2 separate regions of the Homo sapiens genome follow, and region 2 is linked to region 1. Evidence: promoter capture Hi-C in 16 types of primary human blood cells and fetal thymus (Javierre and others, 2016). All regions are on one chromosome and are shown on one strand. Each heading gives the region's core, a stretch centred on a gene start or on the middle of the fragment in contact. The rest is flanking DNA. Distances are from core to core; before and after follow the strand shown. Region 1 holds the start of ZNF776 (zinc finger protein 776). Region 2 overlaps ERVK3-1 (endogenous retrovirus group K3 member 1).

Region 1 (7,245 bases), core at 1,863-4,362:
CCCCCACCCCCGCCACCATGCCCAGGTAATTTTTGTATTTTTAGTACGGACGGGGTTTCACCATGTTGGCCAGGCTAGTCTCAAACTCCTGACCTTGTGATCTGCCTGGCTTGGCCTCCCAAAGTGCTGGGATTACAGGCATGAGCCACCGCGCCCGGCCGACAGGCTTCTTTATCCCATAAATATCTCTAAATCCCATCATCAAAGAGGCAGATTTGAGAACTGTTCTCCCACCTCTGCACTTGGCAGCCTTGTAAATACATGCTTTCTCTGCTGCAAGACTCATCATCTCAGTGATTGGCATACTGTGAGATGGACAGAACAGGCCTGGTTCTATATCAATAGTGTGGAGGAATTGTTTCATTTTATAGACCAGTATCGTCAGCTTCCTCAGGAACCTTTACTAACATGGATAGTGAGAATAACTAACTTAGGGGAAACATCTTTGGTTTTAAATAATGCAGAGTGGAAGAACATGTTTGGGTTGATGTAGTACCTACAGGTCACTCTTCAACAATTGCAGATAGGTATGTATCATCCACACACACAAGAGTTTATTCCTGAAGGAACAGCCAGCCTGGGTGGGTGTATAAAAGCTACTCTGAAGTCTGTCTACTCGGAAAAGCGGGACTGTCTGACTCCCCCTATAAATGCCAAGTGGGGCTCCCCAGATGAACCAGCTTAATATGCTTCCCATGCAAGCCATGTGGAACTGGCATTATGATGATAGGAATATTTACCTACTGAATATGTTTATTACCCAGGTCATGGTAAATGTCTTGGTTTGGGGAACCCCATTTTCTTGGGCACCTTATGTAAACTTACTGCTGCAAAATTGAGCTATAGTCAGTCTTACCAAATTTGCTTCCTATTATGGGCCTTTCAGATGCTAATAAAACCATTAGATTAATTAATAAGATAGACAATGATGAAAGGTACAGGGGAGAGTCAAACAGCTCCTTCCAGGAAGGTAGAAATTTTTAAATAGTTATAAAGAAATAAGACAAATAAAGAAAACATGGATAGGAATGAAACTAAGAGGAAAAAGAAAAGGGGGAAATCATGATACTCATCCCAGCATGGTGGAAATCTTTAGATGGCTATTAGATGGAAATTAGATGAATAAAATAAAAACTGATCGGATTAAAACAAAATTCTGAATATAACACTATTGAAGGTTGGGTGGACCAAAGGAAGTTCCTGTTGATCCCCCAACATTAAAGGGCCTTAAGCTAAGTTGCTGTAGTTCCTGAAGTTTGGATAAATTTTAAAAGCCAGAAGGTAAAGATATAATGAGAAACCCCACCTGGAATGCCTAGGGTGATGGTTAGACTGGTTAATCAAGGTAGCACTTGGAAAAAAGGCCAAAGTCTCCTGGCCTGAACCCTGGGTGGAAACCTGAAGACATCTGCACAAGAAAGGGTAAAATGGTCTGGAGAGAAGAGTCCTGGGACTACAACATAAAGTAAAAGTTGACAGGACTATGAAAGTTGGAATGTTAAACATGCTTTTTTTTTTTTAAGTTGTACTACCAATAAACTGAGTTCTTTCCCTACTTTGTATTGGTCACAAAAAAAAGAACACCCAATTTGGGAAAAAAAAAAAAAAAGGCAAGCAAGTTTTATTTCTGAGCAGAAATGGAGAATGAGTAAGCTCTTGCTCTAAATGCCTCTTCTCCCTGAACATAGAAGACATAGGTTTTTTAAGAACTGAGCGGCTGGGTACAGTGGCTCATGCCTTTAATCCCAGCACTTTGGGAGGCCGAGACAGGTGGATCACCTGAGGTTGAGAGTTCGAGACCAGCCTGACCAACATGGAGAAACCCCGTCTCTACTAAAAATACAAAATTAGCCAGGTATGGTGGCTCATGCCTGTAATCCCATCCATAACATTAATTTATTAGGCAAAACACTCCTTGCCATGGAAACAGAAATAAAGAATAGTCACAAAAAAAAAAAAAGAAAAGAAATAAATAAAGTCTGTTTTATCTAATACAAAAAAAAAAAAATAGCCACTTCCCAGCAATAACATGAACTCCTGGATTTAAGACACAACCAATATCAACAGGTGGAGAGCATCTTCTGCATACGTGCCCCACCTTTGAAAACTGCAGCCATTTATCACTACCAAAATAGCATTTCTTTCATTGGTCTTCCTGTAAGATTGATAAATCTTAGATAAATTAATCCAGAATTAATTGAATATAAGTTGGAATCTCAAGCGAGGGATACTAAGTGGATAAAAGTGTTGCTCAATGTACTGGACACTATGATTGATTTTATAGGCAGGAGAGTTGTCTTCTGTGGGAATCACAGACAGAGATTCAGCATGTATTCCTGCTTTAGGGAACACAACATTTCTCCTCTATCTTCCTTGTCTTGTCCTATCTGGATTAGTTCTCTCTTGTCCCTGACAGACTGAGAAACTGACTCTAATGCCTCAGAGTGCATTCATGTGAATTTATAACACAATAATGTTTATCAGCCTCTGCTGCCAGTACCGGGATTTTGCGACTGAAAGACTGTTCAAAACGTTATGATAATTTGGATTTTTAGTCTTTGGGGGCATCCTAAATAATAAGTTTAGCATCGGAGAGCTCGAGTTCCCCAAAATCTAAAATAATATTTTTTCAAATACTTGAGTGATCAGTTACAGACACTAATCTCCAAAAATCTCAATACGGGTTCTAAGGCTAGGTGAGACTATCCTCTACCCTAGAAGGACATGCACTTTAAGGACAGGCCGCTGAGATGGAGCTGGGCCTTTCCTGCAAGTAAGTGAACGTGATGGTAGGGTATACCTGACAGCATAGTTTGACAGGGGATATAGACTTTCAAGGAGAAAATAGACATGAAATAGATACATGCAGAAGTATAGTCAAATTGAGGGAAGATGACACTTAGGCCAGAGTAGTGTTTATTCACCACTCTGTGCAATCAAGCGCCTCTGAGAAGGCCTTCTTTACCGCCTTGGAACTGTCTTGGAACCTGAGGAAACTACATAACCCAGAAATCTCTGCGTCGAATGACAGCGCGTCAGAGCCAATGAGGGCTCAAAATAAAGGCGTTTCCGCGGAAACAGTATAAAGGTGGGACTTCCGGCGTCCTCTACTAGTGGCCATTTTGATTGGTGTTGGGTGTATTTTCCAGTGAGAGACCGCGGAGTGTTGGGTCGTGTAGAAGTGACTGAACCCAGAAGGTGGAGACGAGACGTTGTCCCGACTGCACAGAGGCTGCTCTGCAGCTCCTTAAAGGCGCTAGGCGTGACCCGCACCAAGGCCGGGATCGGGACCACCGTGCCCGGGTACCTGCACTGCTCGCCCCCTCCTTTCGACCCCGCTTTCCCCACCCAGTCGGATGGCGGCGGCCGCGCTGAGGCCCCCGGCTCAGGTAATTGTGGCGTCTTCCGTGCCCTCAGGTCACCTCATCTTTACCTAAGTCCAAAAGCAGAGAGGAAGCGGCGCCTGCTCAAGGTTTTACACCCTGAACCCGGCGTCGGGACACTGAGGCGCTCTCTATGGGCCCCCGTTTTTGACACCCGCGGGATGCGCTCAGGAGAGCTACAGGCACAGGGAGCGGTGCAGGCAAAGGCCTGGAGATGAACTGAGCCGAGAGGATCGTAACCTAGGGTCCACAGGCACCTGTCGGGAGCAAAGTGTGAGGCAGAGCTCCTCCTGGAAGAGCAGGCTGAGGACCGTGTATTCACCCTGAGAACGCTGGAAGCCATGGACAGCTTCCAACAAAGGAAGGAAAAGATCAATGTCCAGGCTTTAAAGGTTTCCCAAAGTCCAGTCGAAAAAGAACACAGGGGATGACTTTTGGGCCCTGGGAGGTTGAATTCTTGTTCAACCTCTACAGATCAGATAGGTGCTAAGAGATGACATTTTGTACTGAGGCGCTCAGTTCAGACAACCAACTCGCGTTTACCTAGTTACAGGGCCAAGAAAGAGTTCAGGGAGGCCTGAGCTTATCAAATCTCATCAGGGATACATTCTTGTAGCTTGTGCCTCTCCTCTCAGGAACTCCTGGCTGCAGAAGCACTTGCAGAACCTCCGCAGGGAAGCGGAGGGTGTTATTCCCTCACTGGCCCTAACTCCTATCCACATGCTCTTTAGATTGGGATGTCCTGGGATTCTTAGGTACCTTTTTTTTTTTTTTTTTAAGTTTTTTGATATGGGAACCCTGGAGGAACCTTAAACCCAGGATCCAAAGTCTGTGACACAGGATATATGGAGGTATTCCCATTTCTGTCAACCAGTATAAACATACTTGGAAGGTTAACCCAGGAGTTAGTACCAGGATGTGAAATGCTTAGAGGTGAAACTGACCAGAGGGAGGAGGTGATGTTGCCACAGTTTCATCTGGCTGTAGTCTCCTCTGGCTGTACAGTGGAGAACAGACTGTGGGGTTGAGAGAGGAGGAAATAAGATGAGAGTTGAGGCTTTTGCCGTAATCCAAGTGAGGGTTAACAGACTAAGATTCATGGCTAAGGAGATGTGGCTGGATTCAAAGTTGATATTTTGTTACAGCATCTAGGTTTCCTAATACACAAAGTAAGGGCATGAAGAGAGCAATCAGGATCCCGAGGTTTTTGGTCTTAGTAGCTGTAGCTATGGAAGCTGCATCAGCTGAGATGAGCATGTTGGTAATAAACATAATTAGAATATTATGCAAATATCAGGATGACTGTTATGGCCATATGAAGAGTCAGAGACGAATAAGTGTAGGCATCAAATGGCTATGGACATGCAGGTTGGGGTATCTGGAAAGGGATTGACACTGGAGACATCTAATATATGGTAGCTAATGTGTATGCTATGGTGAGTGAGCCATGGGTCACATTAAGGAGAACACACTTCAGATTCTGGTGGTAAATCTTTTAGGGGACCAGAAAGCAGTGGTTGAATGATGAGGACTGCATCTGTTGCTTGGGTCCCTGGGTAATGTTACTGGGCTTCCTAAACACTGGAGAGGTAGGTAAGTGACCATGATGGTAGGGTATACCTGTCAGCATAATTTGACAGGGGACATAGACTTTCAAGGAGAGAATAGACATGAAATAGATATATGCAGAAGTGTAGTCAAATTGAGGGAAGATGACACTTAGGCCAGAGTGGTACTTATTCACCACTCTGTGCAATCAAGATTTGAGATGACTTTGGTAGTGTGTGGGGGGTTTCATTACACGTGCTGAATATGCTCAGGGAGAAATATGGTCATCTGTGACAGTAGGTCTTGGGCCTTAAATGGATTAAAAACAGGACTTTTTTTTTTTTTGAGACGGTGTCTCACTCTGTCGCCCAGGCTGGTGTACTGGTGTATAGTGGCGCAATCTTGGCTCATTACAACCTCCACCTCCCAGGTTCAAGTGATTCTCCTGCCTCAGCCTCCCGGTAGCTGAGAATACAGTTGCGTGCCACCACGCCCCACTAATTTTTTTTTGTATTTTTAGTAGAGATGTGATTTCACCATATTGGCCAGGCTGGTCTCGAACTCCTGACCTCATGATCCACCTGCCTCAGCCTCCCAAAGTGCTAGGATTACAGGTGTGAACCACCATGCCCATCCAGGACTGCTCTTTAAATGGCAATGGTATTAGGTGAATGGAAGTTGGTCCGTGTTGCTGAAGGGTAAGCCATTGTAGCACAGAAGTGGAATAAGACCATGGATATCTGAAGTTACATGTGGTTTTGCATGGATGTGGAGTAATGCAAGGAGGCATTCATAGAATTATTAGGGACTACCACTGCTAATGGGAACCATGGTCATTTTGTGTTATTATTGGATCCTGTTTGAATATGTGAAGCATATTGGATGCTGTCAGCCATATTGTGGTATAAAGCCAAAAATGGAGGCCCAATATGATGTGTCACCTTGACATCTAGTGATATTGGTATGACCTCAAATGACCTGAGAACCAATTCCCTTCCCACTAGGCTCTTTTAGATAATAATCAGCATGGCCTAATAATCCTTTTATTAGGGAGACCAGGCAGAATTCCTGGTTATTATACTTTGTAGTGAGTTTCAATTTTATCCTTACCCACAGTGTTATTCAAACAAGCCAGTTGCATCCTCCTAAGGGATTCGGGGGTCATCACACCCTCTTCATTTTAAAAGCTTGCATATCATAGTTTCTGGTTATGCACTCTTATCCATAGTGCAACCCCTATGTGGTCCTTCATGATGAGGGATGTCCTCTTCTAGACTTTGAGTGTATTTGATTTTTAAACATATTTATAGCACCTGTCTAGTGTTTGATGTCATGTGTTTGGTCATTAATATAACTGTAAGGTGAAAATCTCACCCTTACTGGTAGAAGGAAGAAGAGGGTATAAACATACTTTAACTTGTGGGGAGGCAGAGGCCAATGTGGGAGGCAGTTTAGTGGGGGTGGCCATGGGCATGTGTCTGTGCAGTCTAAAGAATGATGTGTATTTTGGCCTAGCACAGTGGCTCATGCCTGTAATCCCAGCACATTGGGAGGCTGAGGTGGGTGAATCACTTGAGCTCAGGATTTCGAGACTAACCTGGGCAACATAGTGAAACCTTCTCTCTACCAAAAATACAAAAAAAAAAAAAAATTAGCCGGCACGGTGGCATGCACCTGTATCCCATCTACTCGGGAGGCTAAGGCCAGAGAATTACTCGAGCCCAGTAGACAGAGGTTGCAGAGAGCTGAGATTATGTCATTGCACTCCAGCCTGGGCAACAGGAGTGAAACCCTATCTCAAAAAAAAAAAAAGCAAAAAAAAGGAATGATGTGTATTTAGAGAAGGAGTATGTCTGATAGACTGAGGATGCTGCATTGGGATTTACATGACTTCATCTCTACCAGGGGCATTGGCTATCAGGAAGTTATGGACCGCTTTATATCAGCACCAAAACATAGAAATCTATTGTTTCACCCACTTCTTGTGGCTGATGGCTGTACACCATGACCAGTGAGCCCATGAGAAGATAGTGACACCAGTGGGCCTAGTTTCTCCTTGTAGTTTAGGACCTTGGGAGGAGGAAGGGCAAGGGTGGATAAGTGGATGAGCATATGGAGTGTTTGTGGTTTCATCTGTCATCATCACGGCAGGGCACTGTGACCTTTGAAGATGTGGCTGTGAACTTTTCCCAGGAGGAATGGAGTCTCCTTAGTGAGGCTCAGAGATGCCTTTATCATGACGTGATGCTGGAGAACCTGACACTTATATCTTCTCTAGGTAAGGCACTCACACTCTTCTCTATGACCTCAGCTA
Region 2 (7,245 bases), core at 344-2,843, 560 kb after region 1:
GAAAATGCTTACTTTGACCCTAGCTTTTGAAAATGCAAATGCAGATTGTAAATGTGCATTAGCACCCGTGAGATGTACAAACAGCTTGGGAAATTTTCTCAAAGCCTGTCAGGATGTGGGAACTGAACTCCATCGTTCAACTGTGTTAGCTCAAGTAATAGCTAATTTAGTAGTGAACAAATCTGAAAAGGGCCAAGGGTTGAGCCCTAAAGTGGGAAAATGTTATAATTGTGGAAAAATTGGACATTTCAAAAAAGAATACCATCAGACCTCTGGGCAGAAGGGATCTTACAATGCAATACCGCCCCCCCCTCCCCGCCCCGCTCCCCCCAACACACACACACAGAAAAAAAAACACCAGGACTTTGCCCTCGCCGTAATAAAGGAAATCATTGGGCTAATCAGTGTTGCTCAAAATTTCATCAGAATGGCACCCCGCTCTCAGGAAATGAGAATGGGGCCTGGGCCCCTCAAACAATGAGGGCATTCCCCATCCAGGCCACAACCCTGCTACAGGGGTGGGTTCCTGGAGGAACATTGACTCCCTCTCCTCTGGAACACCGGGGAGTGCAGGATTAGATCGCTCAGTCAGAGAATGGGTCACGTTAGTTGGAGGAGACAAACCCACCAGAATTCCCACAGGCATTTGGGAACCTTTGCCAACAGGATATACAGGATTAATTTTAGGCCAAAGCCATCTGAACTTACAGGGCATTACTGTGATCCCTGGATTGTTGACTCTGATTATGAAGGAGAAATTCAAGTAATTGTAATGTCACAAGATCTTTGGGTTTTTAAACCTGGGAAATATATTGCTCAGCTATTGCTTATTATTATTCTCTGCAAATTACACCCTTCTTCACGAAAGGAGAAAAGAGGAAATCAAGAATTTGGGAGTACAACTACACAGGAAATTTACCTATCCCAACCCATAGCTTCTAATTGACCCACCTGTGCAGTGCAAATTAAAGGAAAGAAGTGTTGTGGGTGTATGGACACAGGAGCAGATGTTTCAGTAATATCCAAAAACAATTGGCCCCTGCTACTAACCTCTGCATCCTTAGTGGGAGTAGGAACAGCTCAAAGTGTTTAACAGAGTGCTGAAATTTTACTTTGTGTCAGTCCAGATGGACAGCCATGTACTTTTCAACCTTATGTTGCAAATATACGTGTTAATCTCTGGGGCTGAGATTTACTTACAGCATGGGATGTGAGACTTACAAATGAAAAGGTTGATAATCCAGGATTTAAAATATTGAAGGAAATGGGATATCAGAGTGGGAAAGGCTTGGGAAAGTTCCTACAGGGAAACCCCGGTCCGGTATCGGTAACTGGGCAAACAGATAGGAAAGGGCTAGGTCATCAGGATTTCTGATAGGGGTCATTGATACTTCTTCTCCACCCACTGCCTTGCTGCTAGAGTGGCTGACTGATAAACCTGTGTGGGTGGATCAATGGCCCCTATCACAGGAGAAAACTGACTCAACTCCATCAGCTGGTAAGAAAGCAATTGGATGCAGGACATATAAAAGTATCAGTTAGTGCTTGGAATTCACCAGTATTTGTGACCCCCAAAACGTCAGGAAAATGGCAACTGCTGCATAATTTGAGAGCTGTTAATGCACAAATTAAACCAGTGGGTGCATTACAGCAAGGTCTGCCATCCCCGGCAACCATTCCAAGAGATTAGCCTCTTGTAGTAATAGATCTTAAAGACTGTTTTTTCACTATACCATTACACAAGAAGGACAAGCCTCAATTCGCCTTCTCTGTGCCTTCTATTAATCAGAGAGAGCCTGTCTCTTGTGATCAATGAAAAGTTTTATTACCCCAGGCATGCTCAACAGTCCTACGTTATGTCAGCATTTTGTAGGAAAAGCATTGAAGGAGCCTCGGAATATGTTTTCCACCACCTACATCATTCATTATATGGATAATATTGTTTTGGCCACTCCTACAGATCAAGTATTATACCAGTTATTCAGAGAAATAAAATGGGCTTTAACTAAATGGAATCTCAAAATAGCTCCTGAAAAGGTACAAACAACCTCCTCATACCAATACTTAGATACTACTGTTACTGAAAAAAGTATTCAGCCTCAGAAAGTAGCTCTTCGTAAGAACAAATTACAAACTCTGAATAACTTAGGGGATATTAATTGGCTGCGCCCAATGCTAGGTATTGCTTCTTATCAACTCACTCATGTTTATCAAACCCTCCAAGGAGATTCTTCATTAGATTCCCCTCGGCAACTTACTAAGGAGGCAGAAGCTGAATTACAGCTTGTAGAAAGATGCTTCAGCAACGACATGCCTCCTGGCTACAACCACAAAAGTCTTTGGTTTTGTTTATTCTTCCTACCCCCCATTCTCCATCAGGACTTTTAGCTCAATTCATAGACAAAACTATAATGGTAATAGAATGGCTTTTTTTATCCAGTCAAACAGTAAAATCTTTGCAAGTTTATCTTGCTTTAGTCACACAACTTATAACAATAGGCAGGCATAGATCAAAAATGCTTACAGGATATGATCCTGATAAAATTATTGTTACCTTGGATTCCCAACAACAGGCTGCGGCCTGGGAGATGTCCACTGCATGGCAAATCACTTTCGCAGATTTTGTAGAAATAATAGATAACCATTATCCATCAGACAAAATTTTGCAGTTTTATAAAATTCACCCTTTTATTCCCCCTGTGATTGCTCATCACAAACCCATTTCAGGTGGACAGACCTATTTTACCGATGGCTCTTCCAAAAGCCACACAGCCATTTATGGACCTAAATATACTTAAATAATAAAGACCCCTAGAGTTTCAGCTCAACACTCTGAATTAATGGCAGTTATTCAAGTTTTAAAGCTCACAGCTTTATTTCCTATTAATATTGTCTGTAATTCAGCCTATGTCGTAAATGTAGCTAGTTGCATTAAAACTGCCACTATCAAGAGTGTACGGACCAGCCCCACAGGGTCGGTGGGTCTCTCCCTGTGTGCGGCGACGAGAGAGTGTAGAAATAAAGACACAAGACAAAGAGATAAAAGGCAGCTGGGCCTGGGGGACCACTACCACCAATGCGCGGAGACCGGTAGTGGCCCCGAATGTCTGGCTGCGCTCTTATTTATTGGATACAAAGCAAAAGGGGCAGGGTAAAGAGTGTGAGTCATCTCCAATGATAGGTAAGGTCACGTGGGTCATGTGTCCACTGGTCAGGGGGCCCTTCCCTGCCTGGCAGCCGAGGCAGAGAGGGAGAGGAGACAGAGAGAAAGACAGCTTACGCCATTATTTCTGCATATCAGGGACTATTAGTACTTTCACTAATTTACTACTGCTATCTAGAAGGCAGAGCCAGGTGTACAGGATGGAACATGAAGGCGGACTAGGAGCGTGACCACTGAAGCACAGAATCACAGGGAGACGGTTAGGCCTCCGGATAACTGTGGGCGAGCCTGACTAATGTCAGGCCCTCCACAAGAGGTGGAGGAGCAGAGTCTTCTCTAACCTCCCCCAGGGAAAGGGAGACCGCCCCCCACCCTTTCCCGGTCTGCTAAGTAGCGGGTGTTGTTCCTTGACACTTTTCGCTACCGCTAGACCACGGTCTTCCCAAACGCTGGCGTCACCACTAGACCAAGGAGCCCTCTGGTGGCCCTGTCTGGGCATAACAGAAGGCTCGCACTCTTGTCTTCTGGTCACACCTCACTATGTCCCCTCAGCTCCTATCTCTGTATGGCCTGGTTTTTCCTAGGCTATGATTATAGAGCAAGGATTATTGTAATATTGGAATAAAAAGTAATTGCTACAAACTAATGATTAATGATATTCATATATAATCATATCTAAGATCTATATCTGGTATAACTATTCTTGTTTTATATTTTATTATACTGGAACAGCCCGTGTCCTCTGTCTCTTGCTTCGGCGCCTGGATGGCTTGCCGCCCACACAAGAGCACCTTAAAACCAGAACTGCTTAACCTATTTCTGAGACTCCAAAAAGCTGTTCGCTCTCATGCTGCCCCTTTTCATATTTCTCATATCCGATCTCACACACAACTTCCTGGGGCCACTATCTCTAGGTAATGATAGAGCAGATAAATTCATCAGTTCTATATTTCAACAAGCCCAAGCTTCCCATGCTTTACTGCATCAGAACAACTTGCCCTTACTCGTATGTTTCATCTGCCTCGCAGCCAGGCTTGAGTTATTGTGCAAGCCTGCCCCACTTGCCAGCATGTCCCTGGTGTTGCACCTGTGGAAGGATGCAACCCACGAGGCTTGGCTCCAAATGAAATCTGGCAGATGGATGTTACATATATATAGCAGCCTTTGGCTAACTCCGCTATGTTCATGTAATATAGACACTTACTCCCATATGTTACATGCCACATGCCAAACTGGGGAAACAGCTGGTCATGTCTGACGATACTGTCTGTCGTCATTTGCCCATATGGGGGTCCCTAAACAATTTAAAACTGACAGTGGACTCGCTTATGTTAGTCATGCTTTCCCAATTTTTTACAATTGTGGGCAATCAATCATAAAACAGGAATTCCATACAATCCCTGAGGGCCAGGCATTATTGAGCGGGTACATCAAACACTACAACGCATGCTGAAAAAACAAAAAGGGAGAATAGGGGACCAATTACCACTTCAAACAAAATTACATTTAGCCTTGTTTACTTTAAATTGTTTGACTCCTGGTACGGATGGCAAGACCCCAGCAGAACGACACTGGCAACTGCTAGAGGAAAAGAGGCAAGTTTATCCAAAAGTGTTATGGAAATCCCCAGAAGAAGGACAATGGAAAGGTCCGGTGGATTTGCTGACGTGGGGACGAGGGTATGCTTGTGTTTTTACAGGAGATGGACAAACCGTGTGGGTGCCCTCCAGGTGTGTGTGACCATGGAACGGGAGACCGGAGGGATCCATGGTATTCAACCGTGGGCCTGTTACCTCCAGTACGAGCCATGAGCCAGCGGAATCTGAATGCAAAGACAGAACAAGGGCCGACCGGAGTCACAATGACATCCAACCCCATAACATGGGGACAGATCAAGAAAACGACACAAGAAGCTGAGAAACTACTGGAGCGCCAGGGTCAGGCAAAAACCCCTGACTCCATGTTCTTGGCCATGCTAGCTGTAGTGTCCTGTGCGGTATGTTTCCCCTGTGTAGAGGCAAAAACATATTGGGCATATGTTCCTAACCCACTGGTAGTACGACTGGTACTCTGGAGCGACACTCCTCCTGAGATATATTATGATCAGGGAGCGTGGGCACCAGGACCCCTAACTCCGTCTGACACAGAGCAATAGCATCAATTACACCGGCCCATTGGAAGGACTCCCTTTATGTATCACCATGGATACGTCACTCAACTGCAGCTGTCTTGCAGTCCAATCTCAGGCATGGTTAAGTCACCATGGAAAAATTATGTATTTATTAGGCCTCAGCTTTATTAATGTTACTGGCGTGTTCACCAATCACTCCTAGCCCCATCACTCAAATTGTATGGATTATATGGAATGGGCTCCCTTTGATATTTCTCACCCCCCTCCTTGGACCCAGTGTCTTGGCCCCTTGGCCAGACAACAGTCTATGTTAATGGGAAACATTGACTGGGGTCCCCGTGGCCATTTAGAGGGGAGAGATGAAAATCAGACCTCTTGGCACAAACTTCACTGGCACTGGTGGTGGACCTTCAACACCTCTTCATCACATCACACTGGGATTCAGTCCCCCAGTTGGCTGCACAACTTGCTTGGTATAGGACAGGCTTTAACCCGCCCTTACCTCAGTGACGTCATCTAGGAAACAGAGGCCCAATTCAGGAATCGATATGGAAGGCAACACTCCCATTTATGAATAACAGCATCTGGGTCAGAACATTATCCAACAATAGTAATATTACTCAACACAGTTTTAATATCACCTTTGTAAAAAATATTACCACTCAATTTACGGTTTGTGGGTTTTTTGTTGTTGTTGTTAACTGTTTGAGATGGAGTCTCACTCTGTCGCCCAGGCTGGAGTGCAGTGGCGCAATCTCGGGTCACTGCAACCTTTGCCTCCCGGGTTCAAGCAATTGTCTGCCTCAGCCTCCCGAGTAGCTGGGATTACAGGCACCCGCCACCGTGCCAGGCTATTTTTTGTTTTTTGTATTTTTAATAGAAACGGGATTTCACCTTCTTGGCCAGGCTGCTCTTGAATTCCTGACCTCGTGATCCACCCGCCTTGGCTTCCCAAAGTGCTGGGATTACAGGCGTGAGCCACCATGCCCGGCCAGTTTGTGTTTTTAATCCCTATGTTTTTCTAGCATCTAAGAAGGACCAACTCCACGTAAACATCACCCAGTTGACTTGTGACTCTTGTCAACTGTATCACTGCCTCAATCATAGCACAATACAAACACACAACATATCCACTCTAATAATTCTGGGTCGTATCCCTGGATTATGGATCCCTGTCAATTTGTGCAAACCTTGGGCTGCCACCCCTGCTTTACATTTTGTAAAACTCCTTCTTACCCAGCTCACTCATCGTGCACGTAAAGCCTTAAACATAGTAATTTTTACTGTAATCTCCTTAGTCACACTAATAACCTCGGTTGTAGTGTCCTCAGTAGCACTACATAGTTCTATTCAAACAGCCCAATATGTAGAAAATTGGACATGTACAGCCAACCAGGCATGGATGCTTCAAAATAAAATTAATACCGAATTACAAACAAAGGTAGCAATGTTAAAGGCTACTGTTCTGTGGCTGGGAAAGCAGGTACAAAGTTTGCAATTGTAGCAGCAATTGCACTGTCATTTCAATCATATTCATATTTGTGTGACCAATTTGGAATAGAACCAAAGTGAATATCCATGGAACCTTGTAAAAGCTCATTTGCAGGGAGCTTTTACATCCAATATTACTTTTGATATCAGTAACTTACAGAGTAAAATTCTTAACTTGAATAAGCAAACTCAAAAATAACAGCCCTTTTTAGAAGCTTAAACAGAATTCCAGCAGGGCTTAGAAAGCCTCAACCCTGGCCGGGTGCGGTGGCTCACGCCTATAATCCCAGCACTTTGGGAGGCCGAGGCAGGCAGATCACGAGGTCAGAAGATCGAGACCATCCTGGCTAAAACAGTGAAACCCCATCTCTACTAAAAATACAAAAAAATTAGCTGGGTGTGGTGGCGGGCACCTGTAGTCCCAGCTAATCAGGAGGCTGAGGTGGGAGAATGACGTGAA

Evidence for each region. Contacts are between HindIII fragments. The CHiCAGO score rates a contact against its expected background, and 5 or more counts as called.
Region 2: a fragment that was not itself captured here is called in contact with the fragment with the promoter of ZNF776 in region 1 in 1 of 17 cell types (neutrophils); the score reaches 6.0 in neutrophils.

Annotation. Positions count from the first base shown.
Region 1 is chr19:57,743,703-57,750,947 of GRCh38, forward strand. It overlaps ZNF776 (zinc finger protein 776), which reads left to right and starts at 3,113. Exons shown (of 3, transcript NM_173632.4): 1 at 3,113-3,389; 2 at 7,083-7,209. The coding sequence starts at 3,357. RefSeq lists an enhancer at 3,125-3,174. The HindIII fragment of the contact is 9,325 bases long and covers 1-6,116 here.
Region 2 is chr19:58,307,304-58,314,548 of GRCh38, forward strand. It overlaps ERVK3-1 (endogenous retrovirus group K3 member 1), which reads left to right. Exons shown (of 4, transcript NM_001396080.1): 3 at 4,863-5,159. The coding sequence starts at 4,866. It overlaps ZNF8-ERVK3-1 (ZNF8-ERVK3-1 readthrough (NMD candidate)), which reads left to right. Exons shown (of 7, transcript NR_144447.1): 6 at 4,863-5,159. Among named protein-coding and RNA genes, the nearest start is that of ERVK3-1, 5.5 kb to the left of the region's middle. RefSeq lists a silencer at 3,400-3,694. The HindIII fragment of the contact is 5,065 bases long and covers 1-4,126 here.